Linked DNA regions of Homo sapiens: region 1 is linked to region 2. Evidence: promoter capture Hi-C in 16 types of primary human blood cells and fetal thymus (Javierre and others, 2016). All regions are on one chromosome and are shown on one strand. The core of a region is centred on a gene start or on the middle of the fragment in contact, and the rest is flanking DNA. Distances in the headings are between cores, read along the strand shown. Region 1 overlaps COBLL1 (cordon-bleu WH2 repeat protein like 1). Region 2 holds the start of GALNT3 (polypeptide N-acetylgalactosaminyltransferase 3).

Region 1 (3,837 bases), core at 349-2,848, 1.0 Mb before region 2:
CTTTTAAATATGTATGCCATTAGGTCAGTGGGGGAGAAAAACAAGAAAGAAGACATAAATCAGATCACATCTCTCTAATCCTTCACTGGCCTTCCAATGCATTGATGAACCCAAATTCTTTTCCTTGGCTTGCAGGCCCCAAATGAGCTAGCCTGGTGGTTCTCAAAGTATGGTTTCAGAGCAGCAGCCATAGTACTTGGCTGCCGCACCCCTGAGACAGACATAATCAGAAACATTAAGGGCAGGGCCTTACAATCCACATTTGACAACTCTCCAAGTGATTCTGATGTATGCTAAAGTCTGAGAACCAATGAGACAACCTCAGCGCCCCTCTTGTTACTCCCAGTTTCAATGCCCCATGTAATTCACACTGGCATTCTTTCCTGAAATAGACCCAGTCTCTTCACATCCAAGAGCCTTCCATAGCTTTGCCCTCGGTCCAAAATGCTTTTAACCAGAAAACTTCAAATTGCCTGCTCCTTGAGGTCATTCAGAATTCAGATAAAATATTTCCTCCTCTTAGAGGTATTCTCTAACCACTCAAAAAAGGTACCAAGGCACACCCCACCCATCGTGGCCCACTCTTCACATAGCCCTGCTTGGTCCCCATCACATTTATCACTATCTGAAATCATCCTGCTTATTTACTTATTTCCTTGTTTTTTATTTGACCCCAGAATAAAAATTCCTGGAGGGCTGGGACGTGGCCTGTCTCATTCTCTGCTGGCACCTAGAACTATAACTGGCACAAGATGGGGTTCTCTATGAGCATTTTTTTTTATTTAGTTGAGGAAGGAAGGGAGGGAAGGTCATATTAGTTTCATCAGTTCATAGGAGAGCAAAAACTTGGTGGGTTGCTGAGAGTCAACCTGTTCTGTAGCCAGAGGTATAAGAAGTCATTCAAGTCATTCATGAATATCTACTGCTAAGTCCTTTAAAGGTGCTTTTGGTCTACATTTAATCTTATGAGGCCATTGCCACTGCCATTTAGCTGGGGTTTACAGAGGTTTAAGAAATTTGCCCCAAAGCGCATAGAACATGGGACAATTACAAATGAAAACCCACCAAATCCCCCCGCCAATAACCCTAGCAAAGGCCACCCAAATAACTCCCAGTGTTTAAATAAGCCCCAAAGACATGCACATGGATAAAAGATCTCAATCCTCAGGAAGTTTCTAAATGGTTTTCCTATTTGGGGAAGGGATTAAATTGGGACTGACAAAATTTTAGATTGTATGAAGACTCCCTCATTTTGCCCAGACGCTCGGTAATTTGCCTGAAGCCATGTAATCTGTGGGACAGGACTCAAATCTGTAGCTTCCTTTGACCAATGAGAATTATGATTAATATCAGAAAAGAATAATCTAATTTTTCATTTTTAGGAATGGGACTCAACTTTCAGTTATACTTGGTATAATGTACCAAGCAAAGAGGCAGTGGCATATTCACATCAAAGAAGCACATATGGAATGCTAGTGTCATGTCCCAACAGTAAAAGCCAAACAGAACACAAGAAAAAGTAGTTTCTATCCAGTATCAACAGCAGCTAATCCTTGAGTGTTGACTGTGTGTTAGAAAATGTTTTTTACCTGCACTAACTCGTGTCCTTACTACACTATATGAAGCAAGTGCTGCCACCTCCACATTCCAGATGAGGGTGACATGCAGACAGATTAAGGAACTTGCCTAAGGTTCCTTAGCCAGTAAGTGGTGGAGCTGAAATTTAAACCCAAGGTGTCTGATTCTGAAGTTGGTGCTCTTTACTACCACATTACATCATTTCTTTGAGATCTTAAACATTCATCAAAATAAACAAAAACAACAAGTGAATGAGCAAAAGCCAGGTAGTGAAGGAGAAAAAAATATGTGGTTATTGAATATCTTCTAAGTCCTGTACAGGTGCTTTTTGTCTACGTTTAATCTTATGAGGCAGTTACCACTGCCATTTAGTTGGGGTTTACAGAGGTTTAAGAAATTTGCCCAAAAGCACAGAGAGCATGGGACAACTACAAATGAAAACCCACCAAATCCACTCCCCACTACCCAATAACCCTAGCAAGGGCCATAAGCCTCAACATTTAAACAGGAAGGCAGATACCAGATGTACCCATACCCCAGCCCTACCACTGAGACAGCTACTTCCCCAGGTGAGGTTGGAGAAACAATATACTGGACATCAAAAGGCCTGGGAGTATCCTAAATGGCCACTTGTGTTACCGTAAGTAAATCACTTAATTTCTCTGGCCTTCCATTTTCTCATTTACAAAATACAGGTATTGAACAAGATGATCCCATGCCCCTTTACCTCTGACATAAAATATTTATGCACAATTTTGTTTAGAAACTGGAAATGGAGACAAGATAGTTAGGACTAGGGTCAAGGCAGGGCACAGTGGCTGCACTAATTTACAAGTAGCATTTGGTTGAAAGAGTCACATGGACAGGACGCCCATTCCCAGGGAGTTCTTCCTATGCTGAGAACACTTCTGCTCCTGGTCAGGAAAGGGTCTCCTCTGAGGCTCACAGGAAACAGAAGCCTGGAAAATGGGATCCATTTCCAAGTGCTTTTCTCTCTCTTGGCATTCACACTAGGAAAAAATGATAAAGGGAATGGCAAACCCAAAAGAAAATTTTGAAAAGCTCTTGTTTCAGTCTCCCACACTCAATTATTTTACATTTCAACACCTGGAATACCAAGTCCCTACCACAAGCCATTCATCACTTCAGGCTTTCTGCCCCCATAGCACCTCCACTTAAGTCTGACCAATAATCCATAGTCCCATCAATTACATCCCATGTTTCTGCCACCTTAAATCTCTCTCTCCAAGGTGCACAAACAAAAAAAAAAAATGCAGAGATTTCTATTATCTTAAATACGACTTGCCTGCTTCTTCCAAGTACTCTTTCAAGTACCTTGTCATTACCCGCCTTTCTTTTGCAGCAAAACTTCTAGGACTCTGCTGTCCAATATGGCGGCCATGTAGCTACTGAGCACTTGAAGCATAATTAGTGTGACTGAGGGACTACAGTTTTAGTTTATTTAGTTTTAATTTGAATTTTAAAACTGATACTTGATTCAGTTACTGGAAAATGTTTAAGTATATTTGGGATAAGTTGAGTATGGGAATTTTTTTTTTTTTTTTTTTTAAGACAGAGGCTCACTCCGTCACCCAGGCTGGAAGGCAGTGGTACGATCTCAGCTCACTGCAACCTCAGCCTCTTGGGTTCAAGCAATTCTCGTGCCTCAGCCTCCTGAGTAGCTGGAAGTATAGGCATTCATTACCATGCCCAGCTAATTTTTGTAGAGACAGGGTCGCACCACGTTGGCCAGGCTGGTCATGAACTCCTATCCTCAAATGATCCACTTGCCTCGGCCTCCTAAAGTGCTGAAGTTACAGGTGTGAGCCACCGTGCTGGCCCAGAATCTATTTTTTCAAGTATAAATTTCATGACATCTAAATACAGATCGGGTATTTCCAATGAAAATATAACATCTGAGTTGAGAAGTGCTATAAGTGTAAAATACACACTATATTCCATAGACTTAGTAAAAGGTATTAAATATCTATTGGTAATTATTGTATGCTGACTACATGTTAAAATAATATTTTTATATACTCAGTTTAAGGAAATACATTTACCATGGTGGGCCTTCTCTAAGATGATGTCCAATGACTGCTTCCTTGTGCAGTCTCCTCCCTTTGTACGTGGGCTGGACTTAGTGACTCACTTCCAGTAAATAGAATGCAGCAACAGTGATTGGCTGTCATTTCTGAGATTAGGTTACGAAAAGACCATGGTGTTATTTTAGGTACCCTCCTGCTCTGAGAGAATCCA
Region 2 (3,819 bases), core at 1,186-3,685:
ATGCATGCTATTCCACAATGAGAGGAGCATGATGCCTTCACTGGGTAGTTTCCACGAAGTCAGGCAATATTTGGACAAGTAGAAATGAGGGTAAATCAGAGTGAAGAAAGAGCAATGGACAATTCTGTAATTACAAAGGCCTTACAAATTATATGAAAGAAAAAAGATAAACATCTTATGGTAAGTGAGGATGTGGGTGGTGAAAAGTAAGATACAGGAGTCATGAGTCAAGCCACTGGAATGATCATGCCATCTCTGAGTGAAATGAAGTTAGAATACCTCTCTTGGCTTCAATTTTTCATAAATGGATGGTTTGAGTATTGAATCTCCAAAGTGAGAAAGGGATCTCGAGAATGCTAGGGCTGGAAGATACTCCTGATTGTTTTTAAGGTTTTGTTATCTTAATCTAGGAAAGTATTATTTTTCCTATTTAACAGATAGATTAAGTTACACTGTTACTCTAGCTAATGAAAACATGTTACATTTCTCACTAGAGGTTAAGAGGAAAGACAGTCTGGTAACATCTGCCTAGTAAGTAATGAAGACTAATATTCAAAATTCAGGGAACAACTCCTATATCTCATATTTAAACAGTATTTAGCACATTTGTTTCTCTGTATGGAGACAAGATTAAGAGGTCAGGTGAGATCCTTTTAAGAAATGTAGAAAAGTGGTGATTGAATTAATAATTACATCATGTTATGCTGTGGTTGGCTTTTAGATTTCCATCTAATCTTAAAAAGAAGAAGAAAAATAACCCCACTACATGTTGCATCAGGCATTTTAAGTAAAACGTGCAATTTAAAAAATATTTTTAAAATGTGTGGAGATAGAACAAAACAATGGAATTGTTATTATTATCAGAAACTTCTACGTAAAAATGTTGGTTAAAGCAATATATAAAGATTGATTCTCGGTACAAATTGCTTGGAAAGTTTAACATGTGCACTAGATTTCAGATATTAAAAGTTAAATTAAAAAAAAGAATCTAATGGCAGCGTGTGACTTTAACCTCATGGATTTTAGCCACAAACGCAAAGAAAAATATATACAATAAAAGAAGCAACAGATTTTCCCACAAGCAGAGATTTTCTAATTAAAATGCTGTCACTTTAATATTTTTTAGCTATAGAATTTGACTGTAAATGTCTTCATTATGTAGTGTAACTTCTATAGCAAGTTATGTTAACGTTTTCAAGAATCGGAAATATTGGTAACTCGATGGGGTTCTTAAAACAGAAATAGTTTCTTTGATGAGTTGGAAAGAGAAGGAAATAAAAGTCTAAGGTAAGCGCCAGTTTCACCCTCAATTCTTAGGCTTCAGAAAAGCCTAATTAGGCAGGGAAAGGAATCTGGGCCTGGCACACCCAAGCTTAGACGTGGCAGGATCCTGAAACAATGTTTTTTTGAACCTTTGAGTCATATGCCACAGGCAAACCATAGCCGCGATATGCAGGTCCTTAAGTCAACAGGTCCTCTAACGAGATGGTGAGTGGTTGGTGCGTGGCAGTTGGATTTCTTCCCGCCACGGAAGAAAAGAACTCTTCTCCATTGATCAGGAAAGTGGGCCCAACTCTGGCCTGGAGAGCGCACCCGGAAAAGTGCAGAGTCGAAACAGAGAGAGAGGGGTGTCCGCGTCCCGGCCACAGAGCCCTTTCCAAACCACTCGGAAACCATTTAAATGGCTCGGCGGCCGCGGTTTGCAGCCTAGAACTGTTTGGGGTCCCCGGCTAGGAAAGTTGCCTGGCAAAGCCATGTCTTTCGCTGTCGCGGGATGTCCTCTCGGGCAGAGAGGCTGGAGGAGACAGGCAACCTGCTAGCCGGAGTGGAAGCGCGCCCGCCTCCCGCCGGGCCCTCCCTCTCAGGGTCCCCACGCTGCGACCCTCCCAAGGGCAAGTCCGGGGCCACCAGGTCTTTGGTCTCCGTCCAGCTCCTCAGGGGCCGCCCCATAGGGACTGGCGGGGGCACCGTGGGCGAGAGGGTGTGACCGGGCTCCCCCCCGAGGCGCCACCTGCCCCTTGGCCCAGGGCGCCCCTTTCGGGATCTCTCCAGGGGCAACCGACACACTGCTCTCGAGACCGTCTCCAACCGGCCACCTGGACCGTAGCCCTGTCCCCAACACGTGAACCCCTGCGGCCGTCCTCCCGCCTGCTCTAACGCAGCCCAGGGGTACCGCGTCTCCCTCCGCCTGCCGCCGGCTTACCTGGCGGGTGGGCAGGGCAGGGTGGCGGGAAGCGGCGGCCGGGCAGGCGCTGGACGTGGGCTAGGCGCCAGGTGCAGGTGGCGGCGGCTGCGACTCCGGTTGCTGTCGCCACAGTTGCGGCTCAGTAGAGCTCCTCCTCCGCCGCCGCCTCCTGCCTTCCCGCTGGGCCTCCCGCGTTGCCTGGAGAGGCAGAACCGAGGCTCGGCTTCCACTTGGAGTCTCCCAGGTGAGCTCCAGCCTGCGACGTCGGCAGGGGCGAGGCCCCACTTCCGCGCCTGCGCGCCAGCCTCCCGCCCCGCCCCAGCCCTACCTGAGCGCTCCAGGTGAGAACCTTGGATCGCGCGCGCAGGGTGGGGGCGCCGTCCGGGCCAAGCCTGGCTGTCGCGCGGCTTCTCTCTGAGTGGTCGGCGAGGCTGCTGCTCCGCGCAAGTTGTGGCTCCCGGCCCATCTACATTGGAGGAATCCTGCACTGACCTGGTGGCAGTGATCACCTTGTAGCCAGAACACAGTCTGCTGGGTCCTTGGGGAACCAGAAGTTCTAGATTTCCCCCACACGGTTCCTCCCTTCCTCCTCGGTTCGCCAAAATGAAGGGGTGCGCTGCCTCCGAGGACCACTTCGGGAGGGCAGCAACTGCTGGCTCATGTGGTTTCTTCGGGCAGGGTTCAGCAGCTTCTGTCACCAGTTAGGTTTCGTGAGCTTCCTTCCCGTGTAGTCTTGATTTCATCACTTGACTCACTTCAGCGCAGCTAGTGGTTTCCGTTTCTGTACGCGGGCGCTCTGGTAGGGGCGCCTCACGTCCAAAGGAGGAGTCTTCTTCCAAAGAAGAGCCTTTGGTATTTGGCAGAGCCTCGCCAATTTGGGGCGCACCTCCCCTTCCTGGGATGCTCTCAGAAGGCAAACCAATTCCCAGAAGAGAGGGAAAAACAGCCACAACAGAGAGAACCTTTGCTGTCCCTGTTTGGAAAGAGATTGGGATTTCCTGGAGAGGGCTTGCTTCTACTGCAGGTTTGTTTAAAAGCTCAACATCTATTCTGGAAGAGAACAACGCAGACTCCAGGAAGATGGTGGGTTTTGCTGTTTTTAAGACAAAAAAAAATTGTTAAACAGTATTTGTTCCATTTATGACACAACTTTCTGTTTCAGCCTTCCTTCTGCTGCTGCAACAAACATTGACACACCCAAAACCAGGACTTAAAATGGCCTTTATACCTTTCTATGAACTCATTTCTTTGGCCCTATCCCAAAGATATCTAGGGATATAAATAGAAAACTAGCTAAAAACTTTTTGGTGTCGTGTTTAATCACATGGTGGTAGGTTTTACTATGAAGTTTAGTTGTGGCCTTCCTCCTACATTTTGACATGCTCTTATGGTGCTTATTCACTGTTTTATTAGTGCTATGCGTGACCTAAAAATAAGGTTTAAAATACAGTTTAGTATAGTATCAACAAGTGTATCTTTAGTATTTGACTACTCTAAGACATTGGTTTTAGCATCCATAGTGCTATTTTATACTAGGACATCTATGAGTTAGGGTTTAAGACTTTAGTAAACTAGGTAGTTCTTTGCTTGTTTTACATGTCATGGTTATTTTGCGAGCACCAAGGAACCTCCAT

The links. Contacts are between HindIII fragments. The CHiCAGO score rates a contact against its expected background, and 5 or more counts as called.
Region 1: a fragment that was not itself captured here is called in contact with the fragment with the promoter of GALNT3 in region 2 in 1 of 17 cell types (total B cells); the score reaches 6.1 in total B cells.

Annotation. Positions count from the first base shown.
Region 1 is chr2:164,750,613-164,754,449 of GRCh38, forward strand. All of the region lies in intron 2 of COBLL1 (cordon-bleu WH2 repeat protein like 1), which reads right to left. Among named protein-coding and RNA genes, the nearest start is that of SNORA70F, 65 kb to the left of the region's middle. The HindIII fragment of the contact is 6,801 bases long and covers 1-3,837 here.
Region 2 is chr2:165,791,812-165,795,630 of GRCh38, forward strand. It overlaps GALNT3 (polypeptide N-acetylgalactosaminyltransferase 3), which reads right to left and starts at 2,436. Exons shown (of 11, transcript NM_004482.4): 1 at 2,204-2,436. It overlaps LOC124906086, which reads left to right and starts at 1,775. Exons shown (of 6, transcript XM_047446887.1): 1 at 1,775-1,981; 2 at 2,108-2,526; 3 at 2,989-3,268. The coding sequence starts at 1,775. RefSeq lists enhancers at 1,186-2,092, 2,093-2,998 and silencers at 2,069-2,158, 2,229-2,378. The HindIII fragment of the contact is 5,078 bases long and covers 1,371-3,819 here.